7 separate regions of the Homo sapiens genome follow, and regions 1, 2, 3, 5, 6 and 7 are each linked to region 4. The links are contacts of gene promoters, found by promoter capture Hi-C in blood cells and fetal thymus (Javierre and others, 2016). All regions are on one chromosome and are shown on one strand. Each heading gives the region's core, a stretch centred on a gene start or on the middle of the fragment in contact. The rest is flanking DNA. Distances are from core to core; before and after follow the strand shown. Region 1 has its middle 43 kb from the start of DOCK11. Region 2 has its middle 25 kb from the start of PGRMC1. Region 3 overlaps WDR44 (WD repeat domain 44). Region 4 holds the start of ZCCHC12 (zinc finger CCHC-type containing 12). Region 5 holds the start of WDR44 (WD repeat domain 44). Region 6 has its middle 50 kb from the start of KIAA1210. Region 7 overlaps PGRMC1 (progesterone receptor membrane component 1).

Evidence for each region. The method cuts DNA at HindIII sites, captures the fragments that hold promoters and counts their contacts. A CHiCAGO score of 5 or more calls a contact.
Region 1: a fragment that was not itself captured here is called in contact with the fragment with the promoter of ZCCHC12 in region 4 in 1 of 17 cell types (neutrophils); the score reaches 6.1 in neutrophils.
Region 2: a fragment that was not itself captured here is called in contact with the fragment with the promoter of ZCCHC12 in region 4 in 3 of 17 cell types (M2 macrophages, activated CD4 T cells and M1 macrophages); the score reaches 7.6 in M2 macrophages.
Region 3: a fragment that was not itself captured here is called in contact with the fragment with the promoter of ZCCHC12 in region 4 in 1 of 17 cell types (neutrophils); the score reaches 5.3 in neutrophils.
Region 5: a contact is called between the fragment with the promoter of WDR44 here and the fragment with the promoter of ZCCHC12 in region 4, in 3 of 17 cell types (naive B cells, naive CD4 T cells and activated CD4 T cells). The highest score is 5.6, in naive B cells.
Region 6: a fragment that was not itself captured here is called in contact with the fragment with the promoter of ZCCHC12 in region 4 in 2 of 17 cell types (M1 macrophages and M2 macrophages); the score reaches 5.5 in M1 macrophages.
Region 7: a fragment that was not itself captured here is called in contact with the fragment with the promoter of ZCCHC12 in region 4 in 3 of 17 cell types (activated CD4 T cells, M2 macrophages and M0 macrophages); the score reaches 6.5 in activated CD4 T cells.

Annotation. Positions count from the first base shown.
Region 1 is chrX:118,451,137-118,454,462 of GRCh38, reverse strand. No RefSeq gene overlaps it. Among named protein-coding and RNA genes, the nearest start is that of DOCK11, 43 kb to the left of the region's middle. The HindIII fragment of the contact is 3,040 bases long and covers 141-3,180 here.
Region 2 is chrX:119,260,072-119,263,336 of GRCh38, reverse strand. No RefSeq gene overlaps it. Among named protein-coding and RNA genes, the nearest start is that of PGRMC1, 25 kb to the right of the region's middle. The HindIII fragment of the contact is 1,130 bases long and covers 1,338-2,467 here.
Region 3 is chrX:118,399,350-118,402,604 of GRCh38, reverse strand. All of the region lies in intron 8 of WDR44 (WD repeat domain 44), which reads right to left. Among named protein-coding and RNA genes, the nearest start is that of MIR1277, 15 kb to the right of the region's middle. The HindIII fragment of the contact is 5,488 bases long and covers 1-3,255 here.
Region 4 is chrX:118,821,549-118,825,073 of GRCh38, reverse strand. ZCCHC12 (zinc finger CCHC-type containing 12) reads right to left here and starts at 1,250. Exons shown (of 4, transcript NM_173798.4): 1 at 1,069-1,250; 2 at 684-735; 3 at 361-485. The HindIII fragment of the contact is 2,857 bases long and covers 1-2,744 here.
Region 5 is chrX:118,344,743-118,348,233 of GRCh38, reverse strand. It overlaps WDR44 (WD repeat domain 44), which reads right to left and starts at 2,128. Exons shown (of 20, transcript NM_019045.5): 1 at 1,654-2,128. The coding sequence starts at 1,730. RefSeq lists enhancers at 1,453-1,996, 2,538-2,587, 2,778-2,897. The HindIII fragment of the contact is 5,332 bases long and covers 1-3,491 here.
Region 6 is chrX:119,175,734-119,178,905 of GRCh38, reverse strand. No RefSeq gene overlaps it. Among named protein-coding and RNA genes, the nearest start is that of KIAA1210, 50 kb to the right of the region's middle. The HindIII fragment of the contact is 3,827 bases long and covers 1-3,172 here.
Region 7 is chrX:119,243,077-119,246,333 of GRCh38, reverse strand. PGRMC1 (progesterone receptor membrane component 1) reads right to left here. Exons shown (of 3, transcript NM_006667.5): 3 at 1,868-3,183. The coding sequence ends at 3,080. Among named protein-coding and RNA genes, the nearest start is that of PGRMC1, 8.4 kb to the right of the region's middle. The HindIII fragment of the contact is 1,024 bases long and covers 1,031-2,054 here.

The DNA.
Region 1 (3,326 bases), core at 411-2,910, 370 kb after region 4:
TGGGGTTGAAAGGAGATGACTTGGAAAAAGGAAAAACAAAATATCCTGCTCTTGACGTTAGTGCACAAGAGTGAAAGCTTTCATAGAATTGCTTATAAGCTTAAAATAACTCCTTTCCCTAATGAAGGTGCATGGAAGCTTGGCTGACTTAATGGTTTATCTAACGGTTTATTCGACTGATTAGTGAATGACCATGTTAAGGCAAAAACTGACCCAAGGAAGTCAGTTTCCAATGTCTCTTCAATTACTCTTTTTCATATTGTTGTATGCACTGCAGCAGACTCAATTCAGATCAAATATTTGTTGAACATTACTTACAAGGACCTGTGATTGACTTTCACACGTATTCTATGGGTGAAATCACTCCATAATAATCAATAAAGTGGAATGATTCTCTTCTGTATCTGCTTCAACTTGATCTCCTGTGGATTTTGAGGCTTCCCACCACCTTCCACTCCCATTGCCACCTGTGTCCGTCCCAGCTGCTGCTGCTTCTCCAGTTGTCTGTACCTCTCGCTGCCATACCACTTCATCACTCCTGCTCTTGCCACACACAGAGCTTCATTCTGACCAAGTGTGCCTTTCTTTTTTGCCTCATGCAAAACTCACTCTAGAGAAGACTGTCCTAATTAAGGACTCTGACTTAACAAGGGTAGGTTCAATTTAAGTTCACTTTGGCCATACTTAAAATAGTTGAGTTTTTTTTCCCCCCCGAGACAGAGGTCTCACTCTGTCGCCCAGGCTGGAGTGCAGTGGCACCATCTCGGCCCACTGCAACCTCCAGAGGCCTCCTGGGTTCAAGCAATTCTCCTGCCTCAGCCTCCTGAGAAGCTGGGATTACAGGTGCGTGCCACCATGCCCAGTTGATTTTTGTATTTTTAGTAGAGACAGGGTTTCACCAATGTTGGCCAGGCTGGTCTCGAACTCATGACCTCAGGTGATCCACCCGCCTCGGCCTCCCAAAGTGCTGGGATTACAGGTGTAAGCCACCGTGCCCAGCCAATAGTTGAGTTTTTACTAATGTTCTAGGCTTAGAAAACAGATTCAGTTCTAATTTGCACTGCTTCACTTTGTTTTGTAAACAACTTAGGTTTCATGGTTCACTAAAAACTTAATATTTGCAACCTGCTCAGAGGTTCAATAGAATAGCGCAATTCTTTCTTGCTTCTTGGTCCCCTTTCTGTTTGGTTCTGGTCCTAAGAGAAGCAAAGCACTGACATCTGTTGCAATGTTCCTCCCCCTCTCCAAGTAGGGATGGTGAAAATCTAAGGCATTTTCTCCTAGCAATTTTAAATTATGCTTTTGGTCTTCTTATCCAAATAATATACACTGCAGTATTTTAAATGTTGGGTACCACCTAGAGGAGACAGTGTATACTGATCCAGTTGATGAACATATTTTGAGAAAAAAAAAATCAGGGAAAATGCTTCTCAATATACCGATCTTGTAATTAGATGTTCTAGGAGTAGAACTCAGTCACTGATTGTGCCATTCTGATGCCACAGAAGATCACAAGTTATGTCAGCAGGAATTTGAATAAATGAATGAGAAAGTGAGGAAATCCTCAGCTGCACTGTTTCTGAAGGACTGCCGGCAAGCACATGGACCACATGGACCATCAGAGTTAGAAATCTTAGTCCAAGGACTTCATTTTAATAGACTTGCAGAGAACTACTTATCTTTCCTGAAGTCACAAGGCCACCACAACCAGGACTACAAATTGGGGTTCCCAATTTCTATGCAGGAATTTCTTGTAATTCATACATCGCTTATTCTTTTTTTTTTTTTTTTTGAGACAGGGTCTCACTCTGTTGCTCAGGCTGGAGCACATGGAGCACAGTGGTGTGAACATGGCTCACTGCAGCCTCGACCCCCTGGGCTCAAGCCATTCTCCTGCTTCAGTCTCCCTGTTCGCTGGGACCACAGGCATGCATCACCACGTCTGGATTTTTTTTTTTTTTTTTTTTTTTTTTGTAGAGACGGAGTCTCACCATGTTGCCCAGGCTGGTGCTTACTGTTAAGAGTTCATGCTTTGTACTTTCATTTTAAGGACCTACCACCTTCGATCAATAATTGGAAATTCTGACAAGATATATATTTCTCTATCTCTGATTGTTATTCACAGTGATAAAAAACAGGCACAACCTGAATGTTTGATGGATTGCTTAAATTGTGCCCATATGATGGACACTACCTCAGCCAGGTGATAAGAACGTACCCTCGATGTGATGTAATGAAAAGAGCAATTCACTTCCTTAAAGTCCACAACCCCAGCTGAATCATGAGAAAAACATTAGACAAACCCAATGTGAGGTACATTCAACAAAATACTTGACCAGTACTCCTCAAAACTATCAGGGTCATCAAAAGCATGGAAAGTCTGAGAAATTGTCACGGCTAAGAGGGGTCTAAGGACACATGATGACCAAATATGGGTAAAAACTAGTGAAATCTGAATAAAGCGTGGAGTTTAGTTAATTATACCAATATTGGTTCCTTAATTGAAAAATATAACATGGTATCGTAAGAAAAATAAGGGAATATAATTACTTATTTCAAAAGTCAAGTGTATTCATTTTAATAGACTATTGGTTGCTCTAAGATTATGTGATAGTGCTTGGCCTATGTTTTTAGCATTAAAATGTTTTATCTTTTATGAAGTGGGGATAGTAGATGGTGTCTGTTAAAAAAGTGTTAAAAAATGTCTGTGCCCTATGTCAATCCCTAAAATGCTGTGTGTCCATGAAATCCCTATGTCTAGAAAGCGTTTCTGGCTGGACGTGGTCGCTCGTGCCTGTAATCCCAGCACTTTCGGAGGCCGAGGCGGGTGGATCACCTGAGGTCGGGAGTTGGAGACTAGCCTGACCAACATGGAGAAACCCCATCTCTACTAAAAATACAAAATTAGCTGGGCATGGTGGCGCATACCTGTAATCCCAGCTACTTGGGAGGCTGAGGCAGGAGAATCGCTTGAACCCAGGAGGCGGAGGTTGTGGTGAGCCGAGATCGTGCCATTACACCCCAGCCTGGGCAACAAGAGCAAAATTCCATCTCAAAAAGAAAGCGTTTCCATATATCGTCTTTTTTTTTTTTTTTGGTCTGAGAGAGTACTCACGGATTTGCGAGAGGCAGCAAGAAATGTACATCTGTTGAGTATACCTACTGGTTAGGCACCAAGCTTTACACATACATGATTTCTTAGCAAATCTTTGCAATTTAAGTTAGGTATTCCCATATTACAGATAAGGAAGTAGTAGTAATGTAGGATAAATAACTTGCCCAAGGAATGTGCTAACGGGAAGGAAGCAAATCCAAGTTTACCTGAC
Region 2 (3,265 bases), core at 653-3,152, 440 kb before region 4:
TAGTTTATGTTATGAAATCTGTAGTTTATTATATATTAATTTTGCCTCAATAAAGCAGTTCTAAAAGATAGGTTCTGCAGCCCATTGTGTAGCTAGTATTGCAATTGCCAAGTGAGCCTGTGATATTCAAAGTCCTGTTCTGATCTCCCAGGCTTCCATCGTGACTCACACAAACTTTGACTATGGGTTCAAATGCCTATAGGCATTTACAGAGATGGCAGACAGAGGGGTGCTTTTGGTGGGTGAAGGGAGTTGCTATTGTATTAATCTGTTTTTTTTACCCTTTTCTGGACAAGTTGGTGTCAGCGGTTATAAATTGCTTCCTTTTAGTAGCTTGTTATTATCATCTGAAGTTCCTCTTTTTAGTTAAACAAAGTACAAAATTAATACATTCTTATTGTAAACATTAAAAAACTGAAGCATTAAGAAATGTACAACATGGGCATATAGAGTAAAATAATAGATTGGAGACTCCAAAAGCTGGGAGGGTGGGAGGGAGGTGAGGATTGAAAAATTACCCACTGGGTACAATGTACACTATTCAGGTGATGGGTGCACTAAAAGCCCAGATTTCACCACTGCACAATACATGCATGTAAGAAATTGCACTTGTACTCTCTAAATATATAAAAATAAATTTTTAAAAAGGAAATGTACAAAGTATTTAATAAAAAGGGAAAGTTTATTCTTCTCCTATAGTCCCAATCCATTTTCTAGGGGAAATATTGTTAACAATTTGATGTATATTCTTCCAGACATTATATATTATGTCTGTGTGCATGGCCATGTGTGTTTATATTACTTTTATAAGAGCAATATCATATGTTACTTTATTATTCTGTCACTTGCTTTTTATTTTTTCCCTAAAAACTATCACAGGCATCCTTTTTTGTCAGTAAATACAGATCCACTGTCTGGCTCCCTACCTCCCTCCCTACCTCCAAAAGGTGGAAGGGTGGGAGGGAGGTGAGGATTGAAAAATTACCCTTTGGGTACAATGTGCACTATTCAGGTGATGGGTGCACTAAAAGCCCAGATTTCACCACTGCACAATATATGCATGTAAGAAATCTGCACTTGTACTCACTAAATATCCAAAAATAAAATTACTCCCTCCCTCTGTTCCCTTCCTTCTCCTCCTCCTCTTCCTCCTCCTTCTTCTCCTATATATTTTATTAGCTTTTGACTTGAGGTCTCCTTAAGGAAGAAGCATCACAATGGGAGTTGGTTGTTGTGCACCTATGTACCAGTCACTATGCTAGTTAATTTTTAATGACTTAGAAGAAGTTGCCAATGACACTTCTATAGCAATGAAGCCATGCCGTATATAAAAAGCTTACTTCTTGGTCATACTAGGTCCTCAATATTTTTTAAAAGTAAGATTAGAGAATTAGCCCTCTATTTTGGGAGAGTAATTTAAGATGAAATATTTATTGACATTCAATTTTAAGATCTAAAGCCTGTGAACCACTATGAAAGATATGAGAAGAACAAATGCCTCAGTTTCTTGTCATTTTTGTCCTTGGGAAACAGGAATTTAAGTTGTGAGGATTTTAAAGGAGGTCAGTTTTTTGTTTTTTTTTTTTTCAAAAACAATTGGGTCTTCTTGGGAAAATCAGTTTGTTCTTATAGTCATCCATTTTATCCAACATTCTTGATTATACATAATTTGTGATAATTTCTAAATATCAAATCCATGATAAAGGAATTTAGAAATTGGCCTCCATGAAGCTACTTAAAATAATGTAACCCAGGCTTTGAAATCAATCCAAGAGAAGCATTCTACAGTGTTTTAAACAAAGGCAGTATTGCTGGAGCAAGTGGAGAGCTTGACAAACCTGATTACTTTGAAGAGAGTAATTCTGTTTTGGGTGAATATTTTCTGGAATTTTTTTAAAAAAACTATTGCTTTATATTAGGTTGTATAAATAAATACCTAATGGTTATAAATAAATTTTAGAGTTCAGTATATCTTAATTGAATATCACATTAATTTTTCTCCTAGAGGGGGCTTAGTGTTGACTCTTATTGCAAATTGCAGCAAACTAACTGGATTTTTTCCATTTTGCTACATAGATAATGCTTTTGGAGAAAGAAAACATGTTTCTTCTCATATCATCCCATTTCAGTGTTGCTGTCATAAGGGTTTCTAGAACATAGTATCTTAGATACTGCTTTTGATGACCTTTTATAAAATCAGTCTCTACAAACCTTGCCTTCTAAAGGAAGTTAACTTGGATTGTCCTTTAAGGGTAGTTATTAAATAATTCTGTACCTATAAAGTTAGCCAAGATTTCGCAGTAAATTTTGTGTTAGAATTTCTGTCATCTGGCCATATATGTTTGGCTCTAAATTTCCCTAAAGTTGACGTTAATGAGAAATTCTGGTGACATAGAGTCTGAATATATCTGCTCAGAAAAAAACTCCTTTATTAGGAAGTGCTATTTAAAGTAAGCAAATAGAAGCTTAAATCTCTAATTCCCAGCATTAGTGATCTTGTTCACCTTAGTACTGCTTCAAAGAGTTTGTTAATATGAAGTAAACAGGAAGCACTCATGTTTTGGGGTTTTTCCAGTCCCCAAGTAGAGGGCAAATTCACTTTGTCACTCATTAGAAAAGGCTGTCTCTTCTTAACTTTAACTTAGAGATCAATTTAGTTAAAGTCAACAGACTGGAGGAACAAGAGTAGATATGTCCATTTTAGACTTGGAAACCAACGTGGACAAGGGATGCTAAGTCAGGTGCATGGGTTAGAACTATAAGTTCTATGTATGTTCGGTGCATGTTCATTAATGTGCCACCCTTGCCCTGTTTGTGTACCATCCCCAGCAGATTTTTAATGGAACTTTACATTTAAGATCAATTGTACAATAGATTAGAGATTTAGAAAATCTTGGCTTCTCAATGTATGGGCAAGTCATTTAATTTTCCTGAAACTGTCTGAATTTCCCCATCTGTAAAACAGGCAGGCAAATACCTACTCACGGGTTGCTTCATAAATCAAATGAGATAAAGTAAGACTACTACCACTAATAGATAATATTATAACTTATGTTTATTGAGAACTTCCTGTGTGCCAGGCACATTCTAAGGATTTCACCTGTACACACTCATTTAATTCTCCCCCAAATCTTATTATCTCTATTTTATGGTTAAGGAAACTGAGACACAGTATATACTCTTTGAAAACTCTAAAAAACATTAAATATTATTAAGTAAATATTACATATTATTATTATTATTCCCTTATAGAACAGATATTATT
Region 3 (3,255 bases), core at 341-2,840, 420 kb after region 4:
GGCTAATTTTTGTATTTTTTGTAGAGACGGGGTCCTGCCATGTTGCCCAGGCTGGTCTTGAACTCCTGGACTCAAGTGATCCACCTGCCTTGGCCTCCCAAAGTGCTCGGATTACAAGCATGAGCCATTGCACCCATCCTGAATGTTTTTTTTTTTTTTTTTTTTTTTTGAGACAGAGTTTCACTCTTGATGCCCAGGCTGGAGTGCAAAGGCATGATCTCAGCTCACTGCAATCTCTGCCTCCTGGGTTCAAGCAATTCTCCTGCTTCAGCCTCCCGAGTAGCTAGGAGTACAGGCGCCCACCACCATGCCCAGCTAATTTTTTGTATTTTTAGTAGAGATGGGCTTTCACCATGTTGGCCGGGCTGGTCGTGAACTCCTGACCTCAGGTAATCCACCTGCCTCGGCCTCCCAAAGTGCTGGATTACAGGCATGAGCCACCACGCCTGGCCTCTTAATGTCTTAACTGTTATATCCCAAGCACTTAACTCTCATATCTGGCTCTCAGAAAGACTACAATATATATATTATTAGTGCTGATATAAAGAGATGTCTATGATATATTTGATTTTCTAAAAAAAAACCAAAAAAACAAAAAAAACAAAAAACAGCAAGTTGACAAACTATAGACATAGAGTAGCCCCGCTTTTACGAGAAAAAAAAATTCTATGGCGAATACACCATGCTATTAAAACTGATTTCTGGATTGGCTAGCCATATGTAGAAAGCTGAAACTGGATCCCTTCCTTACATCTTATACAAAAATCAATTCAAGATGGATTAAAGATTTAAACGTTAGACCTAAAACCATAAAAACCCTAGAAGAAAACCTAGGCATTACCATTCAGGACATAGGCATGGGCAAGGACTTCATGTCTAAAACACCAAAAGCAATGGCAACAAAAGACAAAATTGACAAATGGGATCTAATTAAACTAAAGAGCTTCTGCACAGCAAAAGAAACTACCATCAGAGTGAACAGGCAACCTACAAAATGGGAGAAAATTTTCGCAACCTACTCATCTGACAAAGGGCTAATATCCAGAATCTACAATGGACTCAAACAAATTTACAAGAAAAAAACAAACAACCCCATCAAAAAGTGGGCGAAGGACATGAACAGACACTTCTCAAAAGAAGACATTTATGCAGCCAAAAAACACATGAAAAAATGCTCATCATCACTAGCCATCAGAGAAATGCAAATCAAAACCACTATGAGATATCATCTCACACCAGTTAGAATGGCAATCATTAAAAAGTCAGGAAACAACAGGTGCTGGAGAGGATGTGGAGAAATAGGAACACTTTTACACTGTTGGTGGGACTGTAAACTAGTTCAACCATTGTGGAAGTCAGTGTGGCGATTCCTCAGGGATCTAGAACTAGAAATACCATTTGACCCAGCCATCCCATTACTGGGTATATACCCAAAGGACTATAAATCATGCTGCTATAAAGACACATGCACACGTATGTTTATTGCGGCATTATTCACAATAGCAAAGACTTGGAACCAACCCAAATGTCCAACAATGATAGACTGGATTAAGAAAATGTGGCACATATACACCATGGAATACTATGCAGCCATACAAAATGATGAGTTCATGTCCTTTGTAGGGACATGGATGAAATTGGAAATCATCATTCTCAGTAAACTATCGCAAGAACAAAAAACCAAACACCACATATTCTCACTCATAGGTGGGAATTGAACAATGAGATCACATGGACTCAGGAAGGGGAATATCACACTCTGGGGACTGTGGTGGGGTGGGGGGAGTGGGGAGGGATAGCATTGGGAGATATACCTAATGCTAGATGACGAGTTAGTGGGTGCAGCGCACCAGCATGGCACATGTATACATGTGTAACTAACCTGCACAATGTGCACATGTACCCTAAAACTTAAAGTATAATAAAAAAAAAAACAAAACTGATTTCTGGGGCTGAGATTATGAGAAACTTTCATTTTCTATTTTACATATTTCTGTATTTCTTTTGATAACCAGAAAACACAGATGATAAACCATTTTTAAAGCCATTATAAGGTCTCTGCTACCTATAACTCTGAAGCTGTATTTTCTGGATAATTATAAGTTTACTACCACTTTAAAAGCCAAGAAAACAGACATTTTAATTATTTCAGATGGTAATAGTTCTAAAGTATCTACTTTTATGCCTTCTTAAATGGCACTTAATGTTCCCTAAATTTCATTCCTTGATGGATAAGATCGTTACCATCATTTTGGTTCTTTAATACATTCAGAGCCTTTCTAATGCATTGCAGGTGGGCCATACTATTGGTTCCCCACTCAGCCTTCAAGGCAACAGGGCAGGGCCCAGGGAAGCCTGGGCCAATCTTCTCTGGCCATCAGCTGATGGCCAGCTTACCCCAACATTCAGTGCAAATACTATTATGTTCTCTGTGTGTCAATGGCATAAGAAAAGGTTGAAAAGCACTGTGGTACAATGATTGTGCTATGAGTTTTTTTTTTTTGGTGGGGGGTGTGGGGGACAAGGTCTTGCTCTGTCACCCAGGCCGAAGTGCAGTGGTGTGATCACGGCTCACTGCAGCCTCGATCCCTCAGGCTCAAGCAATTCTCCCATGTCAGCCTCCTGAGTAGCTGAGACCACATGTGTGTGCCACCATGCCTGGCTAATTTTTAAAATTTTTTGGTAAAGAGTGAGTCTACCTGTGTTGCTCAGGCTGCTCTCAAACTCCTGGGCTCAAGTGATCCTCCTACTTTGGTCTCCCAAAATGCTAGGATTACAGGTGTGAGCCACTGCACCCACCTATATTATGAGTTATTTTATCATTTTTCTGATTACCTGACATTCTTATGTGTCAACTTACATGTTGTCACAGTTTGCTGCTTCTATTTTGCAGTAAGCTCAGACACTGAACAGAGTTTTAAAAAAAATGATGTAAGAAATAAGCATAATGGCTTTGAATAAACCTGAGGAACTTTTCTCTTAGAAAAATAATGAGCTTTAGTGCATGGACTATGTGACATCTCTTCTGGATGTTTATCTGTCCCAGAATAATTGTAGTAATTCCTTATTCTCAGGTTCCCAATAACTGCAACTACTAGATGGCCAAGTTCCAAATATCTAAGGTGCTATCATATGCCTGCATTTTAGGTACATCTTTCCTAAAAATTCTCAATGCTTTCTTTGATACACACTAGGAAAAGGACTCAAGTGGATAATTCACTTTGGACCTTAGAGTTAATTATTATCAATTTAGTG
Region 4 (3,525 bases), core at 1-2,500:
TCCTACCTGAATATCCTGCAGTACATTTTATATTTGCCCACTACCCTAAAAATAATCCTGTAGGAGATTGACACTTACAACCTCCCAGAGCTACCCGATGCCTGCGTGCTAGCAAGGTGCTTTTTGCAGCCACATCCATCCCTCCCACCAGTCCTCCAAGAGGGACGGTAACTGTTGCTTCAAATTCTAGGTGTAGCAGTGTCTGGAGCTGATATTGGGCTCTCCAAATAGAGTACAATGATCGCAGATTTGTGGAAATAAAATAAGATCTCATTAACCTCATGGTCTCTGGTCTCAACCACACCCCCTTCTCAAAGTGCCCCCCACGCCCGTCCCCCTTGTTATTTCTCAGATTCTTACACGAACTCTGAAACAAGAGCGCGTCTTTATTTCACTTCCAGCCTCTGCAACCAGTGCCCTCCGTGAGAAAGCTCCTCTCCGGGGTACGGTCAACCTCTGTCCACAGGGGGTCGCAGATCCGGGTCCTTGAGGTTTCAAGATTGCGCCACAGCGGAGAAGGCCAGAGAAGGGAAGGGTTAGAAGCAGCTTCACCCGTCATCCTGCTACCCACCACCTCCGCTGTTGCCAGGCGAAAAATTCTCTCTGCCCCCTCCTGACTATAAGCCAGAGACCAGCCCCCCACCCTCCAGCATTACATTTCCCCCGGGAAGCCGTCGGCCTACCAGCTCTGCAATCAGCTGCACAGAATTCAAGTTCAGATGCGGCTTTGATGGCCTGCCACGGAGAAAGGGAATAGGAGTTGGACACACCCACCCACATATTCCTCCCAGAAAGAGATGAGGAGATGCAAAGGATGTTCGAAGCAAACAGCTCGAGATTCCTCCCCCCGCTACTCCTCGCCTCTCCTCCCACCCCCAAATCCAGGCAAATCCTACCTAGCCCGCAGTATCCAGGTGAACCCCACCTCCTCCCTCAGCGCAGCCGGGCCACGAGAGTACTCCTACCCCTGCCTCACAGTCACCGATTCTCCAAGCTGGGAGCCGCCCAGTACTGGTGGGTCTTCCCCCACCCCTCTCCCCGCCGGGCAATCACACCCCCATTCTTTACCTGTGCTCCGCTGGTGGACAGCAGATGCTCCCGCGTCGCCAGCTGTGGATTCCGCCTTCTGGTCTCCGCCTTGCAGGCGGCAAAGAACTGAAGCCTCCTTGGCCGCTAAGCGACCCGGGGCTGCCCGAAGGAGCTGCTTCGCAGGGCCGCCCAACCAGGGGTAGCAGAGACGAGGCAGCGCCGTTCCTAAGGCAGCCGCGGCGGCTTTTATCCTCTGCCAGCTGAGACAAAAGAGCGTGACGAGCGGGCTAGTGCGGCCAATCAGCGAAGTGCGGGGGCGGACGCCCCGCACAGCCTTGGGCAGAGGCGAGTTTTCGCCTGAGGGGGCGGGGGCGCAGCAGGCCCGCGGAGCGTCAAGTGCAGCTTGATTAGACCGATGGAGCCAATCTGCCTGGGAATTTGCGACTCTTTCTTCCTCCCCCAACCCGTCCCTTCTCCCTGGGCTCAACTCTGCATCTTAGGCCAGGTGCATTAAACACGAAGTGGGTCCAAAATCAAGTGAATAATAAAAGTTCTTCACCTTGGTATAGGGAAAAGACGGGGAAGAGGGGAAGGGGCGGGAAGAGCATTAGCACGTGCATTGCGGAAACAGGCTTTCACACACATCTCCTCTTTTACTGTGAAAGAAGTAGCAGTATGTCCATTTAACAGAGAGGAGAGCTGGAGAACAAGGCTCTCAACCAATACCCATTCAAGTATGGGGGCAAGACATCAGAGTCATTTGGGGGAGCTTGTTAGAAATGCAGTCTTCTGGCCGGGAATGGTGGCTCACGCCTGAAATCCCAGCACTTTGGGAGGCCGAGGCGGGCGGCTCACGAGGTCAAGAGATCGAGACCATCCTGGCCAACATGTTGAAACCCCGTCTCTACTAAAAAGACAAAAAAAAAAAAAAAAATCAGCTGGGCATGATGGCGCGTGCCTGTAATCCCAGCTACTTGGGAGGCTGAGGCTAGAGAATCTCTCCAACCTGGGAGGCGGAGGTTGCAGTGAACCAAGATCGCACCGCTGCACTTCAGCCTGGCAAGGGAACAAGACTCCCTCTCAAAAAAAAAAAAAAAAAAAAAAAAAAAAAAAAAAAAAGGAAAAGAAAAGAAATGTAGGCTCTGGGCCCCAACTCTGGTGGATTCAGATTTACTAGGACTAGCGGTTGTGATGTGGTTTTGTATTTAGTATTTTTAACCGGCGCTGCGGTTGGTTCTGAGTTGTAGCAAGGTTTGTGAATAAGTAAATGAGCCTGTCTCCAATATCTGTCCACAGGTATCTGTGGTGAAATGCAACTCCAGAGCAGATGTGCCTACCTGGAATCCATGATCTTCCTGAAATTGTATGCAAAGATTTCGGACTCTGTATGAAGCTAAATAATGGCCACCCAAATGTATCAAGTCCTAATCCCTGAAACCTGTAAATGTTACCTTATAAAGTAAAATGGTCTTTGCAGGTGTGATTAAGTTAAGGCTTTTTGACTTAATTTTCCAGGCAGGCTGAAATCTAAACCACAAGTGCCCTTATAAAAGAGGGAGAGTTGGTGCACCAAGAAGAGAAGGCAATGACCAGAGATTAGTGATGTGGCCATAAGCAGAGGAATGCTAGCAGCCACCAGAAACTGGAAGAGGCAAGGAATAAAGCACAGTCCTACTGACACCTTGAATTCAGCCCAGAGAAACAGATGTTAAGCTTCTGGCTTCTAGAACTGTGAGAAATTAAACTTCTCTTGTTTTAAGCCAAGTTTGTGATAATTTGTTACAGTGCTGTTTTAGTCTGTTTGGGGTGCTATGGCAAAATACCATAGACTGGGTGGTTTATAAACAACAGAAATGTATTGCTCATAGTTCTGAAGGTTGGGAAGTCCAACTTCAAGGTGCCAGCAAGGTTGGTTTCTCCTGAGGCTTCTCTCCTTGGCTTGCACATGGCTGCCCTCTTGCTTGGCCATCCTCTCTGTGCATATGTGCCTCTGGGTTCTCTCAGTGTGTCCAAATTTCCTCTTCTTATAAGGACACAAGTCAGATTGGGGCCCACCCTAAGGGCCTCATTTTTACCTTAATAACCTCTTTAAAGGCCCTATCTTTAAATACAGTCACACTCTAAGGTACTGAGGGTTAGGATTACAATGAATTTGGGGGAACATAATTCAGCCTGCAGCACTCCATTTTCCCTTACTTCTGGTTCTGGGAAAGCAAGCCTTCCTTCTCTCATGTAAAGTGTGGTTAAGAGACTCCTGTGGGAACTTTGGGGGGTCAAGACCAAGTGCACTTGGACTGCCCAAGTGCAAAGGAGTTGCTTGTTCTTGACTCCTGATGTTTGGAAGTGAGTGAACAGTCTGATGCTTTTCAGCTGCTGTTAATTTCAGCTTCAGCCTGCCAAGGTACTTTACCTGCTTCTTTCTGCCTTCTTATTTCCAACTCCAATACCTAGAATTCCTTGGAGTAAACAATCTACATTTAAAGACAAAGCACCTTC
Region 5 (3,491 bases), core at 879-3,378, 480 kb after region 4:
AAGCATGAACATTTTGAATGCTTTCTCTGTGCCCAGGTACTGGACTAGACAGTTTACACAGGTCCTGATATAACTTGCGTCCTTTGAAATTAAACTTATTCAGTGGAAAGAACAATATCCACAGAGTAGTTCTAAACTGATCAGCTCATAAACTGATGATTTCCCTCCCCCACCCCAATACACACACACAAAAGTACCAAAGGACTTGGTGTCTCATTCAATCTGAATTGTCAGTTCATTACTTTGAAGGGAAAACCACACACACAAAAATTAAGTTTCACGGAAGTCCAATACATTTCAAAACCCAAATGTATTTCCTATGCTCTACACCTAGCTCTAAACTTGTCTCAGATATTGAACTTGAAGGAGATTCGGTGTCATCTCAAGATTGGCCACTGCCACCCCAAAATCCCACAACAGTGACATGAAGGTTGGTGGAAAGACAAACATCTGAAATCTACCAACGTACATTGCTTTCTGATTTTATTACTGTAACTTTTTGGTGCATATTGTGTATAAACATACATTAGTTTTTAGAATGACTTCTAGCATGCATGGCTAACTATACTTGCATCACAGCGGGTTATTACTCCCACGGAGTAAGTGTGAGAATTGAAGGCAGTGAACTTCTCGAACCATATTAGTCCTTTATACTAACATCTACATTTTACCAATCCTCAAGTTCTTACAGCATGAAAATATATTTCACTGCCTCTATTTCCACGTACATTCGTAGGGGAGTTCGGCGAAATCGCTTTAAAGCACTACCCCAACTTTGAAAAGTGGAGAAGTGGGTAAGTAAATACAAGTCCTAGTCAAGCGAGCATTCCAACTACTGTACTTCCTATTCAGAATCACCCATATTAATCACCACTAAAACATCTTGCAGAATTAGATAAAGAACACAAAGCTGGGGCTCTCCTTCCAATCACCAGATTACTCAGCACTTGTTTGTCCCTCTGCAGTCAGTTGTGCACATTTCTTCTGTCTGGCCATCCTTTTAGACCGCATTCTGCCTAATAGGGACCGTGTATTCGATTTCCTTTACCTCACGATAAGGTGTTATTTTAATAAAACACTGTTGATCTAGAGTACATTCGCTAGAGGACTTTCTTAAGCAAATACCCAACCTTCCCCCCGCTCCTTTTCGCTGTGTGCAAGAAAAAGAGGACGGCAAATAGGGGAGAGTTACAGCCACCTCTGAAGTGAATAGGTAAGTTAGCGGTAAACGGGAGAATAAAAAACTACAAGTTACATTTCTCCTGTTACTGCTCCTTTAATCTACGGTCCCCGAGGCCAAAACGGATGTTTGAAAGGTAAGCTCAGAACCCCACAGATACAAATCTCCGACTCAGGCACGTAAGCTGTTCCCCCTCACAGAAGGCTGGATCAGAAGAGAAACGGGCTCCGAGACCGACCCTGGGACCGTTCAGTAGGGAAACGGCCGGGAGGCTGCCCGAGGTGGCTGACTCCCCCTTCTCCGAGTCACCCCGCCCTAAGAAGCCCCAGGTCTGGGTTCTGAAGTCCTCCAGTGAGACGGGGAGGAACAGCGGTGGCGGACACAGCGGGACCTGGGAGGGGTGTAGGGGGAAGACACAGGAGATGCGGGGGGCTTGGGATGCCCGGCTTCCTGTCATAGCTGCAGTCACTTACCCCACGGGGTAGCCGCCCCCTAGGTGCACATCTTCAGGGGCATCATAGAATTCCTCGGTGTCGCTTTCCGACGCCATTTATAGGACACACCCGCGGGTGAGGGGGCCGGCGCCGCCTGGAGGAAGGGTGACTCTTGTCTCCTCCTCGTCGACCTCCACCCGGGCGAGACTGGGGAAGTGGGTCTCGGGCGAGGCTGAGGGAGCAGACGATCTGTAGCGAGGAGACTGTTAAGGAAAGGGGGCCGCCCTCAGTTGCCGGGCTTCGGGAATGACCGGCAAAGCGGCCGCCTGAAGAGGCGGCGGTTGGTCCAGGGAATGTTGCTGCCACCGCTCCCAGTGATAGGTGTATAAGGAGCGCGAAAGAGGCGGTGGCTCCTCGCAGTAAGGGAAGAAGGGCGCGCCGGCTACAGCGGCTCCAGTTTCTCCCGCAGCAGCAATTTACAGCAGCTGGAAGAGCTAGTTGCCCGCAAAATACCGACGCGCACCTACCCTCGCGAGATTTCGGAGGGGCGGTAATACGTGGGCGGGGCGAAGAGGTGGCGGGGGCGGTTCCAGAGAGGCAGCGCTCCGATTACTTCGGCCCGAGAAGCCTATCAAAACGGCGCAAGCGCGTTGAGGGCGTTCGGTGAGGGCCGGAAGTAGCCGAGAAGGGAGGGGGTGAGCCTCCCGAAGGGAGGAGTCTAGGACCTGCGCAGGAGCAGCGTGGTGCCCTGGCTCTGAGAGCGCGCGGCCGACGTAGGTGGGGTCAGGCAGAAAGTCTTACTCCCTAACTCTGCAGTTCCAAAGAGACGCGTTTTGAGAGGGGTGATTTTGAGTCGGTCTTTTACTTGTAAAGAAATACTCTCGGGAAACGTTGGTGTGGACATTTTGGCGTATATTTACGATGTCTTACTATCCAAGCCCGGAATGTCCCACCCTAGGGCGTCGGCAGGTCCACCACCTCTGGCGTTACGAGAATAACTCGCCCTTATTCACTACGAGATCTCTAATTGAGATCCCTAGATATGATCCTGCCGGCCAGAGGGTGGGGTCCTTGAGATATACACGGGGAGTGTGCCAGTTCCATGGTGTAATGATGGATTTATTGCTGGAGCTGAGCCAGTATTAGGCCTCCGGTTACTTTTTCTCCGCACATGTCTGTCGCTGCCAACACAGTGTGAGAGAAGTTCTTACATACTGCCCAAGATGTGCGTCAGCTAAATGGTAAATATTTATTGAGCAGATATCATTGCAAGCCTACGAGCTAATGGCTTAATTCTGATCCTCAACTGCCCAGCGTCCGGTGATAAAAATAGAAAGGTACTTTTTAAAAAACCGAGATGTTCCTTCTTAAACCACGGGTCATTGACCATCAAGGTGATAACATTGACTTTCAGTATGATCACACAGCATATTTATTTCTCCAACTGACATCATGATAGGCATTTTGAGCTGTTCGTGCAGCCTCAATTAGTATTCAAGAAAAGGCTGGATTGGAGCCAGGGGTATGGTCTCAGAGAAACTGGAAAGGGGCTCTAGACTTTGTCAAGCAATCAGGGCAAGGTCTGCTGTGGTCTAGTGGACTTGGGTAAAAACCAAATGTCATATACTGTATATTCTATAATACCCCAGGGAGTTTAGGGAAAACACTGCGTAATCAAATATATTAATATTTTTGCAGCAAGATATATGATTGTTCATACGGGATAAATAAATACAAGTAAATAGCCTCATTCAGTTTGAGTCAGACGCTTCTGCCAAATAAGTTTAAGATAGATCTATTTGACTGTCAAATAAATTACTAAAAAAAAAAAAAAACAGAAACTTGGTTTCCAGAGCTTTTGAAGTTTCAGAATTGGA
Region 6 (3,172 bases), core at 118-2,617, 350 kb before region 4:
ATCAGAGTGAACCCAATCTAAAATTGTTTTAAAAATTCATCACAGCAGGCTAGGTGCGGTGGCTCACTCCTGTAATCCCAGCATTTTGGGAGGCTGAGGGGGGTGGATTATTTGAGGTCAGGAGTTTAAGACCAGCCTGGCTAACATGGTGAAACCCCATCTCTACTAAAAATACAAAAAATTGGCCGGGCGATAGTGGCACAAGCCTGTAATCCCAGGCTACTCGTTAGGCTGAGGCAGGAGAATCGCTTGAGCCTGGGAGGTGGAGGTTGTGGTGAGCTGAGATCTGCACTCCAGTCTGGGTGACAGAGTGATACCCTGTCTCAAAAGAAAAAAAAGTGTCACAGCACTCAGCAAAGCATATGATTTCCACATGCCTAAGGAAAAGTGGACTTGCTGCATTTCTTCACCAGCTCTGTGCCCTTCCTCATGACTGCCATATTTACAGCTGGATCCAGATTGCATGGAAGAACCAGCTGCTTTGTTAACACATGGGTTCCTGGTTTGGCCCCACAAGCGTGGCTATTGCCTTGGCATCTGGCACCAGGCTGGGGATGGAGAGGCAGTGATATAAAAAGAGATTCAGGCCGGGCGCGGTGGCTCACACCTGTAATCCCAGTTCTTAGGGAGTCCGAGGTGGGCGGATCACGAGGTCAGGAGATCGAGACCATCCTGGCTAACATGGTGAAACCCCGTCTCTACTAAAAATGCAAAAAATTAGCCGGGCGAGGTGGCGGGTGCCTGTAGTCCCAGCTACTCGGGAGGCTGAGGCAGAAGAATGGCGTGAACCCGGGAGGCGGAGCTTGCAGTGAGACTAGATCGTGCCACTGCACTCCAGCCTGGGCGACAGAGCGAGACTCCATCTCAAAAAAAAAAAAAAAAAAAAAAAAGAGGTGGGAATTGAACAATCAGAACACATGGACACAGGAAGGGAAACATCACACACCGGGGCCTGTTGTGCTGGGCGACAGAGCGAGACTCCGTCTCAAAAAAAAAAAAAAAAAAGTGGTGGGAATTGAACAATGAGAACACATGGACACAGGAAGGGGAACATCACACACTGGGGCCTGTTGTGGGGTGGGGGGAGGGGGAAAGGGGGAGGGATAGCATTAGGAGATATACCTAATGTTAAATGACGAGTTAATGGGTGCAGCACACCAACATGGCACATGTATACATATGTAACAAACCTGCACGTTGTGCACATGTACCCTAAAACTTAAAGTATAAAAAAAAAAAAAAAGAGAGATCCGGAGGATCACAGGACTGCACAGTGATAAGTTGGTGACAGAGGGGCTCCTTGGAGAGTTGTTCAAAAGGCAGGGTCCTGCTCTCCTCCTGCAGTGGCCAGATGGCTGGGTGCTGAATGTCCCTGCTCTAATGGCCTCTGTAAGTGTGACCCAGAGTGCATATGCCACCATTTCCCATCTGTGGTTTCTCACAACCTAGTCTTGTCATCAAAGGCAGCTGGAGCCTGCCCTTGAAACCCTGGGTCCTGGGCAGAACAATGGGACCAAGAGAAAAATGGGGCCAGTGTCCTCCAGAAGGGCCATTGTTGGAGAGATATTAACTGGCTCTTTGGGCTCTGGGCCCCACACAATTTGTCATCTGTTGACCCTTGCTCACCAGGCCCCCAAAACCTGTGGCTCTTTGCATATGTAGTCTCCAGGGTCCCAGAGGAATGTGACTGTGACCAATGGCAGTGGAGTCTGTTTTGTGGGGGTAGTTGGACTTGTTCTGAGCATGCTGGTTACTCTCTTCTTATGGTTTTTGTTATATCCACTAAATAAGGATTCACTTTTATTTTTTATTTTAAAAATTTCATCCAAGAGACACTCAAGATTCGATTTAGGTAAAATCAGATGTTCTGTGTTGCTTATTTACCAGGAGTTGTGGAGGTTTCTTTTGGTCTTATTTGTTTGGTGCTACTCAGCTGGCATCCTTATTAAGTACCACTTACAGAATTTCAAAATAAGGATCAGGGTATATTCTGAAGAGCAGATTACAGGGCTCCCCTCACAGTGTTGTAGACTGGCTGGACTTCAGAGAGCATCCTTTAGAGGGTTGGGCTGGTTAAAATGCCTTCATGGCCTTCTGCATAGAAAAATTGTTTAAAGAAATAACCAAAGTTATTGTAAACAAAACTAATTGAAACAAGGGAATAGAGAAGGAGTAGGTTTTGGGAAGGATGGCTACCACTTCTCCATTTGCTGCTAACATGGTGCTAAAGTAGGACTTCCATTTGGAGAATCTGAGAGAGGGAACAATTACCATTTGAATGGTGAAGCACTGATTCAGTGCACTCAATTAGGGGTAACATCATCACACTAGTGGGAGTGGCAAATTGATGGCCAGCCCTGAGTGAAGATTAGAGGCAGGTATCACACTCTGTGGTCATTTCCTTCTGGCCTAGCACACATCCAGATGAAATTTGGGGAAATGCACATCAAGGACAGTCATAAAGGGAAAAAAGAAGGCATGGAGATATCACTAACGCAGATTAAAGAAAAGAAAGAGGATGGGCAACCTACACCAGTGTGTGCGACCGGACAGAGCAGACTTCTAGGTCTTTCTAAGCCCAGCGGAGACTCCACTGTCTTCTTATCTCCACCTCCCTTCTACTTCCTCCTCCCTACCTACTGCCCCCTGGATAGTTTTAGCAGCCTGGTCCTATGTAAGTCCACTAGAGAGGAAGGGGCCAGATGGATGCTATTGGCTATCACTCTGCTATATCTAAGGAATGGCTTGGCTTGTACTGCAGTGAGCCAAAGAAAACAACAACATGAATAAGAATAACTAACATTTATTGAGAGTTTGTGGTGTGCCCAGGCCTCATTCTGAGGTATTCACCCGGAAAATCTCATTTAAACCTCACATCAACCCTCTGAGGCAGGGACCATTGTCATCCCCATTTTATAAAGAAGTTGCAGTGGTAGAGGAACATATGCTATAAAAAAATGGAGATGTGGTTAAGTCAACTCTGCAGATGGCTATAGGTTTATTTACCTCCCAAGCAAGAACCACAGTTTTTTTTTTTTTTTGTATGGGGAGCTTATGGGGGGAAGGTCCCTTCAGCATTTCAGGACAAGAAGGGAGAGGAGGGAGCCTCTTTGCAAATGTTTGCACACAGGTAGGGATGTCACTCTTCACCCTCCACCCCCATATCCTCCTG
Region 7 (3,257 bases), core at 293-2,792, 420 kb before region 4:
ATTTAAGATGATCCTCCCTTTAGCACATTTTATCAGTGCTAATAAGAGGTAGCAAAATTGACTCCATGGAATTTCACCTAATTCCTTCAGCCCTGGGTGGAAGTGTTCAAGTTATACAATGTGCAAAAACAATTATGGGTTTGGGATGGACAGTCTAGTCAGAGAAGGTAGGGGCCTCAATAATCAGTCTTTGACCATTCAAGAGTTAACTGTATTTTCATGTGAAATATACAGCAAACTGCCTCTAAGTATCATAACAAAGGCAGACTACCTTGGAGTAAAATCTGGGCACTTTAGAGCTGAAAGCGTCCGTCAGGTTCAAAGAGCTCTTTCTGAAACAGCAAGAAATGTATTGATGCTTGTTCTTGATCTAGGATTTGCATAAATTTGGCCCTCTGAAGTAAGGTGAATGTTACATTATGCAGGGAAGCCAGATATGCAGATACTGAAAACACGTAGTAAATGCTGCTTATGAACCACAGACGCTAGTTGAGAACAAACTGTCTCTGCAGCTGGTAGGATGACAGCAGGTGGGGAGCAAGCCAGATGTTAACCTAACACCTCCCTCCTTCACTGGACATGTGGTGGTTGTAACAACTACCCCCCCTCCCCCCGACACCACCATCTTCTTGAATGGTGCCTTTTACATGAATATGGCTTATGTATATGCTAGCTGGATTTGAGAAGTTTTTAGATCAAAGTCCTGCCTTACAGCAATATTCCTTTCCAAGTAACCAACACAATGTTGATTCAGCTCTGAATGGAAGAGAATCAGGTTATTGGGAGTGAAACTTTAGTGAGGCTCTAAATCAGGGGTGCCTAATCTCTTCGCTTCCCTGGGCCACATTGGAAGAACTGTCTTAGGCCACACATAAAATACACTAACACTAACGAGAGCTGATGAGCTAAAAAAAAAAAAAAAATTGCAAAAAAAACCTCATGTTTTAAGAAAGTTTACAAATTTGTGTTGAGCTACATTCAAAGCTTTCCTGGGCCGCATGCAGCCCGTGGGCCATGGGTTGGACAAGCTTGCTCTGGATATTTTCCTCTTGGCAGCAGACAAGCCTGTTTAACTTTGCAAAATGAGTAGCCTAATCTTCACATGCACATGAGATTTCAGGCTGCGAAGGTGGGCCCAACTTCTCTCCCCCACTCCTTCTCCAAAGCATAAGGCATAACAGGTTACATGGCACAAAACAGGCACTCAAACATTTGGTGAATGAAACCAAGTGGGAAAAAAAAAGAGCACATTAAAAAAAACTCACAAGTACCTGCAATGTGGTTTGATAACATGAAAAATGGAAATTTCTTTGGTTCAGGAAGTATATCTCTTATAAGAAAACTCTGCCAATGTTAACATTAAAATGACAAAACACTAATAGGTTGTCTTTGTTTATACAACTGACTGCATATGCAAATCTGTTATGCTTCTTTTGACACGAGGTGAATTAACTTTGCTACTGTAAGGATTCCTGATACTTTCCTGATCAGACAATACATTAACACAAAAAAACCCAAACCCTTCCTTAGCACTTGGCAATGACAATGCCTTCAGTAACCTTACTTCTTAAGAACCTTGCTATAGACTTCAAGGTGGAGGTCTGCCATTTACAGTTTAGAAAGTTCTGATTTAGGCAAAACTTTGACAAGTCACAAAAAAAGCAATTCAATTCACTATTTCTTAAACAGGACAAGCTGGTATTTGGTTTTTGGTGTGGGGTCTCCATGAAATTTTGCCCCTTGTTTCTTTTGGAATACAAAAACTCTGCACTCAAAAATGAAACTGAATTTTAAGCCAAAGTAAAATGTCTGAATCAGATTCCCTAGAATAAGGTTTTTAAAAAAATTTAAATAAGTCACCACACTATAGTGGGTAAAACCATTTTTATTAACTGACCAAAGCACATCATTTTGTTTTCTGATTTGAGGTAAAATCATAAAACACAGTTCACAAGAAAATACAATGACTATTTAACCACAATTACAAGTTTGAAATCTCACTAGGTGTTCATATACTTTTACAAATTCATACAACTGTATAGTCTACTTAAGCTTAGTGTTAACCAAAAGAGCAATATCAAAGACCTAGACACTTGACTACTACTTTTGCAGTGGGTATAGTTTTATAACAACAGAATAACTGTTACCTTATGAATATACTTTACTTTAAAAACCACTTGACTAGCGACTGTACTGTTTCCTCGTGGTTCAGGGGTGTGCATGAAGGCTCTTAGGAGAGCAAACACCTGTTCCTATTCTGTATGTCCCTCCCTCATTTCAAATGAGAGTAACCAATTGAGTAAAATAACCAAATAACCATTGCCCCACCATGAACATGGGGCTTGGGAAGACAGTCCTACAATCTTCATCATATATTTAGGTTTTTAGGCCAGCCAGCTCTTTTTTTCCAAAGCTTTCTTTTGAATGTTCAGATCCTATTTTAATCCTAACTATAGACTACTGTGTTTGTGAGGGTGTCTGAGTGTCTATGTGAGGGCAAGGACAACAGTGCAGTCCAGAAACACAGAAAATATGCTTTTTTGCAGCTGAGCTCTGTTTTGAGATTTCATTTTGTTACTGGACAGCGCTTAATCCATACCAAAGTCTTTGGAACACTGCAGATTTGCTTTAGAGGTAGATAAAACAGAAATCATGCAGTTAAGTCAATTGAGAAAAAAAAAGGGATTTGTTGTCTTTACAGAACATCATGACTAAAAGTTGATCCTTTGCTCTTGGTGCACATTTAAGATTTTTACCTGTTTTGGGAAATACCCAAGTCTTCCTTGTCTCTCAGGAAAAACACATTTAAATTCATCCTGTACTAACTACAGATAGAAGAAAAACAGTATTAACATGTGTATTACAGCACTGCAGTTCACTTTCTGGATTTGTGACACACAAACACATCATGCATTCTAAGAAGTTAATTTTATTAGTGTCACTAGTGATGTTAATTAAAAAACTTATAGCAAGTGCTCAAAACTTTCTAAATATTGTAATCACTATGTTTTAAAGACAGAGTGGACTGTTACAAATGATTTTGCAAAATACAAAAATAGATATACTTCCACTGAATGCTTTAATCATTTTTCCGGGCACTCTCATCTTTTGGTTCTTCCTCATCTGAGTACACAGTGGGCTCCTCCCCCTCCTTCAGCAGTTTGCCCACGTGATGATACTTGACTGGAGGTAGAGAAGAAAACACAAATGGTCATTCTCATTCTTTCTAAAACATCATTACCACGTTTCAATTTAAA